Linked DNA regions of Homo sapiens: regions 1 and 2 are each linked to region 3. Evidence: promoter capture Hi-C in 16 types of primary human blood cells and fetal thymus (Javierre and others, 2016). All regions are on one chromosome and are shown on one strand. The core of a region is centred on a gene start or on the middle of the fragment in contact, and the rest is flanking DNA. Distances in the headings are between cores, read along the strand shown. Region 1 holds the start of GNMT (glycine N-methyltransferase). Region 2 holds the start of PPP2R5D (protein phosphatase 2 regulatory subunit B'delta). Region 3 overlaps PTK7 (protein tyrosine kinase 7 (inactive)).

Region 1 (3,026 bases), core at 248-2,747, 180 kb after region 3:
ACACTGAAGCCCTCTTCCACCAGCATAATGGAGTCCACCCTGAGTACGGCCAGCGAGGAGAGGCAGAGAGAGGCAGTTAGGGGAGCCTGGGAGGGCCAGGAGGAGACCCTGCACTGGACACTTTTGTCTCTACTTCTCAGAGTCCGTTCCTCTGCCTCCTCTCCCCAGGCCCTCTCCACTGACCTCACAAATCTGTTTCCTGTCACCACAAGGCAACTTTTTTTTAAAAGCACCTCTTCAGAGCCAGGCACTCTACAAATATGCATTAATTCTCATGGCAATCCTGAGAGGTAAATAGTGTCATTCCCATTTGAGAGACAGACAAGCTGAGGCTCCTTGAAGTTAAAATACGTGTGCACAAAAGGCAGTAGAACATGGTGGTTTAGAGCACAGGACAAAGCCGGGCGCGGTGGCTCATGCCTGTAATCCCAGCACTTTGGGAGGCCGAGGTGGGCAGATCACAAGGTCAGGAGATCGAGACCATCCTGGCTAACACGGCGAAACCCCGTCTCTACTAAAAATACAAAATATTAGCTGGGCGTGGTGGCAGGCGCCTGTAGTCCCAGCTACTCGGGAGGCTGAGGCAGGAGAATGGCATGAACTCAGGAGGCGGAGCTTGCAGTGAGCCGAGATGGAGCCACTGCACTCCAGCCTGGGCGACAGAGCACGACTTCATCTCAAAAAAAAAAAAAAAAAAAAAGAGAAAAATAGAGCACAGGACAGATCTTAACCAACCCGGGCCTGTTAGCTCCTTTTCACTGGATGATGTATGAGGGAATTTTACTTTGCTGAGGCCTTACTTCCCCAGTAGTAAATGAGAGAATATCACTGCTTAACTTCATGGGGCTTTGTGAGGGTTTGAAAAAGTGATGTATCAAAAGCTCCTGGCACTGGGCTTGGCAGGTGCAAATGTTGAGCAATGTTAACTGTTAACACTGCCCAAGGCCATCACAGGAGGAATATTTGCAATCTGTCCGTGGCTCTGGCTCCAAAGCCTCAGGGACGCTCACTTTTTCTGCCCACACCCTCACTCACACTCAGTCTCCCTTCTCCGGGGCCTCTCCCTGCGAACCGCTACCTGGACCCCTAGCCTCACGGGGCACTCGCAGTGCCTGTTCTGCCGGGCAGGTACCTGCTCCTGGCCCTGGTGTCCCACCCGTTCCAGGATTGGCAAAGGCCGCCCTGACGTGCCCGGCCCTGTGGTTCTGCGGCCGCGCAGTACAGGCTGAGACAGACCCCGATCTCATGCAACGCCCCCGGCCCCGGCCTGGGCTCACCCAGTGCCACAGGCTACGTCGAGCACCCGCTGGCAGCCGTGCTGGCGCAGCAGCCCAAGCAGCCATGCCTTGTACTCGGCGGTGCGGCTGCGGGTGTCTCCGATATACAGCTGCCACACGCGCGCCGCCTCCCCGTCCGCGTACTGGTCCGGGAGCCCTTCGGCCGCCACCCCCAGGGAGCGGGTCCGGTACACGCTGTCCACCATCCTGCGCCGCGCCTGGCTCCGCAGCCACCCGCTCCGCACTTAAAGCATAAGCACTGCTGGCAGCCGACAGCCCCACCTGGCCAATAGCAGGTGAGCGCGCGGACACGCCCCTGCCGGGCTTTGGGCCGGGCGCCCGAGTCTGTCCAGCTGCAGGGAGGGCGCTGCCTCGCAATCCTGGGCTAGGTCCTTTTAGCCAGCCTGCGGACCCAGCCCTCTGTGCAATCCCACGGCGGGAGAGGACCCTCGGAGCCCTCTGCCCACTTAACCCGGGTCTCGAGGAGAAGGCGAGAGGGGTCAGGAGAGGCGGGAGCAATGAGATTGCCACTCCATCCCCTGAGATCCGCAGAGCTGAGCGCCAGGCGGGCAGGACTGGACCGTTCCCAGCGAAGGAAGGCATCAGCATATCTAAACAAAGATTGTGCCACCGAAGTGTGTAGGTATAGTCAGCCGGTGCAGGGAAGACAGGGGGAGTCTCTGGAGGTAAAGCTGGTCTGTCCACCGAATCCAGGGGCGGAGCCCGGCTGGAATACGGTAACACGGTAACACGGTGAAACCTGGCTAACACGTCTCTACTAAAAATAAAGAAAGATTAGCTGGGACATGGTGACACGCGCCTGTAGTCCTAGCTACTCCGGAGGCTGAGCCAGGAGAATCGCTTGAACCCGGGAAGGCGGAAGTTGCAGTGAGCCGAGTGCACCACTGCACTCCAGCCTGGGCAACAGAGCAAGACTCCGTCTCAAAAAACAAAAAGCAAAAAACAAACAAAACCCTCTGCTTTCACAGGAAGCAGGAGAATAGGGTCTAGAGACAGGGAACATAAGGCCAATTCACACTTCAGTTATAACGGGAAATATCCTCTCCATAGGGCGTATGCCCGCCATTAATAACTTTGTAACTGTAACTTTACTTCATCCTCTTCATTTACATAGGGTGTACCCCAAGTAGAGGGTATTTAAACTCACAAAATGTAACAGGGCCTTTGAGCCCCTATGCTCATGCTCGCTCCCACACTGTGGAGTGTACTTTCATTTTCAATAAAATCCTTCATTCCTTTCTTGCTTTGTTTGTGCATTTTGTCCAATTGTTTGTTCAAGATGCCAAGAACCTGGACATCCTCTACCGTTAACATATTTTGGCGAGCCAGCCAGCAGAAAGAGGTAAGCCCAAAGTTTGGGATTCATTTTTCTCCCTTTCCTTTCTGCTCAATTACAGGGCCGCTCTCGCGCTTCTCTCTCTCTCTCTCTCTCTCTCTCTCTCTCTGCCTCTCTCCTCCTTCCTTTCCAACTTGGGACCCTTGGTGGGCAGCGCCTAAACATGGAAGCAACTGCAGGGTTTTTTTTTGTTTTTGTTTTTGTTTTGAGACACAGTCTCGCTCTGTCGCCAGGCTGGAGTGCCGTGGTGCAATCTCAGCTCACTGCAATCTCCGCCTCCCAGATTCAAGCAATTCTCCTGCCTCAGCCTCCTGAGTAGCTGGTATTACAGGCGCTCACCACCACGCCCGGCTAATTTTTGTATTTTTAGAAGAGGCAGGGTTTCACCATGT
Region 2 (2,956 bases), core at 287-2,786, 160 kb after region 3:
AAGAAGGCAACATTAAGAACTGGCCTGTGGGCCAGGCACGGTGGCTCACACCTGTAATCCCAGCACTTTGGGAGGCCGAGGGGGTCAGATCACCTGAGGTCAGGAGTTCAAGACCAGCCTGATCAACATGGAGAAACCCCGTCTCTACTAAAAATACAAAATTAGCCGGATGTGGTGGCGCATGCCTGTAATTCCAGCTACTTGGGAGGCTGAGGCAGGAGAATCGCTTGAAGCTAGAAGGCAGAGGTTGTGGTGAGCCGAGATCGCGCCATTGCACTCCAGCCTGGGCAACAAGAGCAAAATTCCATCTCAAAAAAAAAAAAAAAAAAAGAAATGGCCTGTGTCAGGACATCATGATAAAGACATGGGTGTTCAGGGGTGGCTGGCCTGCAGGCTAAGAAGGAACAATAATCTGACAGTGAGGACAAATTCCCAATTTGAAGATGGTGTAGCTTAGGAAAGGCAGAAATCCAGCACTGGTGCGAAAAGAAAAAAAAAAAGGAAAAATGCAAAGGTTATCCTAGGATTAAGAATAAGGGTGAGGAGCCTACTCAGATTAGGAAAGGTGACTGGTCTAGGATGCACTTGGGTGACAGTTAGGAGGGCTTTGATACAAAAGAGGCCTTTAAGTCAGGAGACCTGATATTGCAGCTGGGCCTCCAGCAGGCTGTGTGACCTTGGACAAGTCCCTTGCCCTGTCGGGGCCTCAGTCTCCTCATCTGTACCATTAGGGATTGCACTGCATGCGCTCAGAGGTCCCTTCCAGCACCAACGTTGTGAGGTTCCATCAACAGAAGGGCTCAGTCCTGCTTACAAGTTTGTGTGTGAAGGAAGAACTAGAGGGAGGGGCCTAGGCCAGATTTGGGTGGAGGAGAGAGAAAGCAGCGCTGTTCTAGGTCAGGGGCTTGGCATGGAAAGAGAAGGGGCCGTAGGGGACTGCGGGGCGGCTGTCCCAGGCGGGTAGGAAGAGGAGACAAGGGGCTGCTCAGGGCGGGGCGAGGGGGCAATTCTGGAGGAAGGTGCAGTTTCAGATGAGGGGCTGCCCAAACCGAAGGGGGATCGGGGCCAGGGGTGATGGGGGGGACAGAAAAAGCAGGACAGTGACCTGGGAATGGGGCAGATCTGGAAGAAGGAGGTTACCCTGGGCCGGGGGTAAGAGAAGGGAAGAAGGGAGGGAGGTGTATGTGGGGGGAGTCTCTCCGGGGCAAGGTGGGGGAGCTGTCCTAGCTGCGGCACAAGCTGGGGGTGCTGCCAGCCGCGGGGGCGGAGGGCTGGCCCCAGGAGTCCTGCGGGGGCTGGACGGGAGGGTCAGTCTGGGGCTGTCCCGGGCCTGGCTCCGGCCCCTCCCAGAGCTCCGCGCAGGCTCCAAGGCGGCGGTGGGGGAAAAAGGGCCACGCTCACCTTCTCCTTTTTCAGTTTATAGGGCATCTCGGCCCGTCCGGACCCGGCCCGTCTCCTGCGGCCCCGCTCCGGCTCCGGCTTTGCTCGGCCGCACTCGGCCCGCTCGGCGTCTCTTCGCCACCGCCTGCGCGCTGCGCCCGGGTCGAGCGGTGCCTGCGCCTCCAATTGGCCCGAACTCCTACAAAACTGCCTGACAACCAGGCGCCGCCTCCTCGGATTGGTCATTGGAGCCAAGCTGCTTCCTTTTTTTCTTATTGGAAAGAAATAGTACAAACCGCCAGGGTTCGGCTTCCAGAATTGGCTGAAGTGGGTGGTCCCGCCCTAAAGTGGGTCGAGCTTAGAGAAGGAGGCGGGGATAAGGGGAAACCCAAGCTTGGCTAGGAGGGCTGCACTCCAGCGTCTGCTGTGCGTCGGCCTCGGCCATTCTTCGCGGCGCTTGGAGCCCTGCTCTTTCCTTCTAAAGGCTCTCACACTTTGCCCGCTCTGCTACCCTGTCCAGTCGGAATTGGAGGAAGGAAGCCCTAATACGGAGGGCACCTTTCTTCACTGGGGTAAAGTAGCCCTAATTGCAGATGCAAAATTGATGGAGGGAGCTCCCAAGGACCTTCCAAGACACCCGCCTCCCTAGACAGGGGTTGCAGAGGAGCAAAGGGGAAGCCTGGCAGGGCTAGGACCTGGGCGAAATGAGTGGAGAATCCCTGGCTTGGTGCAACTTTAGGAAGAGGGTCCCCGTTGCTACTGCAAGTGTACTGGGATTGGGGAACCAGCTAGATTTGAGCAGTTGGGAACGCAGTGGAAAAGCAACTTCATTGTTGACTGTCTCAGGAAATCCATCCCTTACTTGCCACCCTGCTCAAGTCCGTGTTCTAATGGGTAAGACTCAGTTTATGCCCACAAAGAGTTCGCAGTCTGGTGAATCACAGATGTGTATAAACAAAGGATTAAGAGAGAATGTAAACCAGGCAGGCACGGTGTCTCACGCCTGTAATCCCAACACTTTGGGAGGCTGAGGCAGGAGGATCACCTGAGGTCAGAGGTTCGAGACCAGCCTGGCCAACATGGCGAAACCCCGTCTCTATTAAAAATACAAAAATTAGCTGGGTGTGGTGGTGCACGCCTGTAATCCCAGCTACTCGGGAGGCTGAGGCAGGAGAATCACTTGAACCCGGGAGACGGAGGTTGCAGTGAGCCGAGATCACACCACTGCACTCCAGCCTGGGCGACAGAGCAAGACTCTGTCTCAAAACAGCAACAATGACGACAAAAAGAATAAACCTGTGGCCAGGCTCGGTGGCTCACGCCTGTAGTCCCAACACTTTGGGAGACCAAAGTGGGCAGATCACGAGGTCAGGAGTTTGAGACCAGCCTGACCATAGTGGTGAAACCCCATTTCTACTAAAAATACAAAAATTAGACAGGGTGCGGTGGCTCACGCCTGTAATCCCAGCACTTTGGGAGGCCGAGGTGGGCGGATCACGAGTCAAGAGATCGAGGCCATCCCGGCCAACATGGTGAAACCATGCCTCTATGAAAAATACAAAAATTAGCGGGGCGT
Region 3 (3,367 bases), core at 442-2,941:
CCAGGCTGGTCTCGGACTCCTGGCCTCAGGCGATCCTCCTGCCTCAGTCTCCCAAAGTGCTGGGATTACAAGTGTGAGCCACTGTGCCCAGCCGCGTAAGTACTTGTTAATGGAAAGACTGATAGGACTCCTGCCCGCTCTTGCCCCAGAACTAGGGATTTGAGAAGCAGCAGTTTGAGGACCATGGGGTGAGGGCAAGGACCAGCTGGGGAATGAAGAGGAAGGCGCAGCTCTGGGAATGACACCCTGAGTGGAGAGGAGAAGGCTGGTGGCTGGGGTAACACTCATGTCACAAGTGGTGCTAGGAAGGAGGGAGGCAAAGTGGGTTCTGATATATTTATTCTCAAGTGGGGACAAGCTTTTGGGGAGGAAAAAATAACAAACCAAAGAAAACAAGAGTCAGAGAAGATGACCTGGAAGGCATCCCTGCAGTGTGACAGTGAGAAGTCCCAGAAAAACTTAGGACCAACGCCCCTGAGATACAGATGGAAAGACTGGGTGCTGATAAAGGGAAAGCAGGCATCCAAGAGCAGGGAAGGCAGAAGCTGAGCATCATAAGGTGGGCAAAGTGTAACAGCAGGCAGGTGAGGTCTCGGCTGAGACTGCACGAGACAAGGTTTTCACGGTGCTCCAACCACTGACTCCCACCTTTGTAGGACACTGCCCTCCCTACCCGAGACCCCCACGTCCCCTGCCAACAGCATACCAGATCCACATATTCCAGCACCATGTAGTGGGGCTCAGCCTCCCGGCACAGCCCCAGGAGCCGCACCACGTTGGCGTGGTTCAGCTTCCCAAACATCTCCAACTCCCTCCGGAAGTCCAGCTGCTGCTGCTCATCCTTGCTCTGCAGGCTCTTCACAAGTACCAGGGTCTCTGCCACTCCCTCCTCCAAGCCCTGAGCCTTTGCCAGGAACACCTCCCCAAACTCACTCTTCCCTGTGGGTACAGTCTGAGTCAGCCAGCCACCTTCACCCAGGCCGAGGCAGCTCCTGACCTGGGGGAGGGGCCTAGCCTCTCCCACAGTGGGGACCCACCCACCTGGGCTGGGCACGAGACCCGGTTCTGCTGTGACCCCCTCCCTCCTTAGGCTTCAGTGTCTGCAGCAACAAAATAAAAGGGTGGGACTAATATTCAGCATTTTCCAAAGGGTGACTCGCATGAGAATTTTTGGTGGCTCATGGTAAACATGTCTTAACGTATGCTAGGAAAAAACGTAACTATGACAAACCCATGATTTCTCATATTTTTTCCTAGAACAATGGTAACTTAGTTTTTTTTTTTAAAGAGTCAATTTAAATAAAACATCAAGTAAATAATACTACAGGTAGTACACAGGAATGACAAAATCTGCACGAAGGGCAGTGAATAACAGGCTCTGGGGCCACACTGGGCTAGATCTCTACCTATGCTTCCCTCCACCTCTAACATTCTAGGTTTCAGGGACTTCAGAACACTAGCCCGTACCCAGCCTCAAGACACAGCGGGTGACTTGTAGTTAGGCAGGGGCAGCTGTAGTCAAGGCAACATACCCAGCGTGGTGATGGGCTGCAGGCTAGACCGTGGGAAGTGCATCTTATCACTTGTGCTGTGGCGTTTGTTGGTGGCCGCGGGGCCGGAGCCCAAGCTGGTCAAGGCCACTTCTTCTTGGATCTCTGCTGAGGGCTGCCCGTTCTGCAAAGGCCCACCTGGGAAGGAGGAGGACAAGAGCGTCACGATGAGACCTGACACTCTGGCCACCATGGGGATTTCTGTTCTGTCCCCTGGTCTTCCACTCTTGCCAACTTGGGTCCAATCACAGTGCTCCACATGAAAGGGCAAGCCCAAATGATGAAATAATGGGGCTGGGGCTGGGTGGGGGATGTATGGCTATCCCCTAGGGTATGACCCCTTAGTGATGCAGCTGATTATGACCTCTGAGATGAAGCCAACTGCAGACATCTAATCTGAATCACTGGTCCTTAATACCATAGCTACACATAAGGATTTTTGCTTTCATGGGGCCTCCTATTGGGCAAAGCCCTAAACAGGCACAAAGGGAAAATCACAATAATGGAGACCCAACCTCTGCTCCTGAACACCTGAGCTGATAGGAGAGACCCAGCAATGACCTCAAGGAGCTCCCAGTCCAGGAAGTGGGGATAGGAGAAGGGAAGTAAACAGAAAGACTGCCCCTGGGGGAGCTCTTAGACTCATAGAGGGAGACAAGACATGCAACAGCAACGTGTGTACATATACTAATGATATCTGTGGTTTTGTGCTGGGAGGAGGAAACAGCAGGGAATCATAGGAAGCTGGTCCAAGGGGCTCCAATGAAGAAGTCTCAAGCCAGGTTGCTCAGAAGACGAGGCCCTGGGAATCCAACTCCAGGCTTCCCGCTAGGGGTGGGGCAGTCCCAGCTCCAGGACCCAGCAACAGCCGCTCGGTTTCCAGAGTGCTGGCGCTCTCCCCTCCGTGGCCGCGGGAGGGCGCTCAGCTCCCGCACACGGGCACCACCTCCCCGTCCAGGGCCCCTCACCGTTGAGGCATTCCATCTCTGGCTCCTCGCCCTCGGGCTGCTTCTGCAGCCGCTTGGCTTTGCAGCGCTTCTTGCAGTAGAACATGAGGCCCAGCACGGCAATGATGTAGGCCACAGCGGCACCCACCGACAACCCAATGGTCTGGATCATCTTGTAGGGGGGAGGGCTGCCAGGGCCCTCCGACTCCTCCGGCACAGGCTTGTCTGAGAGACACACAGATGGGTCTGGGCAGGGGCTGCTAAGCAAAAGAAGCCCTGCTTCTCTACTAACTCCTCCCAACCCCATCAACAGGGCAACTTAACAGATGGCCCGGGAGGGTCACCACCTTCACTGGCTTTAACAAGGGCCAGCAGGTCCTCATGCCCCACCAAGGTCAAACGAAGACTCTGAAGGAGATGAGGCCAGGGGTTCCCAAGCTGGCTTTGCATCGGAAGCCAAGACAGGCGACACGGATAAGCACACCTGTCAAGGAGCTACCACAAACCCACGTTATTTGTTAAGCTTCCCAAGTGACTTGATAATGTGAGCCAGGCCCCGGAGAGCAGCATTTGGGAGCTTCAGGTTTAGAATTCCAGGCACTGCCTGGCACAGAGCAGGTTTTTCAATAAGCAGATCTGTAGAAGGGATCTGCTGGTCTAGGGGCCTTTTAATGGCCCACACTGAGGGGCCTCAAGAGGCATTAGGGGAATGAAGGGAGACCATGCAGGATCCCCCAACTGCCACACACACCCCAGTGGCTCCCACCAAGGGGGCCTCCTCAGTTCATTTTCATCCATTTAAACTTTCACATTATACTTTGTCTAGAAAAATAACTCTGCTGCCAAACCAAGAAAGTTTAAGAGCTTCTC

The links. Contacts are between HindIII fragments. The CHiCAGO score rates a contact against its expected background, and 5 or more counts as called.
Region 1: a contact is called between the fragment with the promoter of GNMT here and a fragment that was not itself captured in region 3, in 1 of 17 cell types (M0 macrophages). The highest score is 5.4, in M0 macrophages.
Region 2: the fragment with the promoter of PPP2R5D here is called in contact with a fragment that was not itself captured in region 3 in 2 of 17 cell types (fetal thymus and megakaryocytes); the score reaches 9.2 in fetal thymus.

The regions. Positions count from the first base shown.
Region 1 is chr6:42,959,225-42,962,250 of GRCh38, reverse strand. It overlaps GNMT (glycine N-methyltransferase), which reads right to left and starts at 1,497. Exons shown (of 6, transcript NM_018960.6): 1 at 1,278-1,497; 2 at 1-39. The coding sequence starts at 1,483. CNPY3-GNMT (CNPY3-GNMT readthrough) reads right to left here. Exons shown (of 5, transcript NR_134892.2): 2 at 1-39. RefSeq lists enhancers at 1,049-1,098, 1,277-1,778. The HindIII fragment of the contact is 11,485 bases long and covers 1-3,026 here.
Region 2 is chr6:42,983,150-42,986,105 of GRCh38, reverse strand. It overlaps PPP2R5D (protein phosphatase 2 regulatory subunit B'delta), which reads right to left and starts at 1,536. Exons shown (of 16, transcript NM_006245.4): 1 at 1,402-1,536. The coding sequence starts at 1,428. It overlaps LOC124900215 (a long non-coding RNA gene), which reads left to right and starts at 1,792. Exons shown (of 2, transcript XR_007059580.1): 1 at 1,792-2,274. RefSeq lists silencers at 1,178-1,327, 1,418-1,487 and an enhancer at 1,638-1,757. The HindIII fragment of the contact is 14,822 bases long and covers 1-1,775 here.
Region 3 is chr6:43,142,772-43,146,138 of GRCh38, reverse strand. It overlaps PTK7 (protein tyrosine kinase 7 (inactive)), which reads right to left. Exons shown (of 20, transcript NM_002821.5): 14 at 2,519-2,722; 15 at 1,533-1,688; 16 at 707-939. Among named protein-coding and RNA genes, the nearest start is that of SRF, 27 kb to the left of the region's middle. RefSeq lists an enhancer at 2,624-2,713. The HindIII fragment of the contact is 2,662 bases long and covers 361-3,022 here.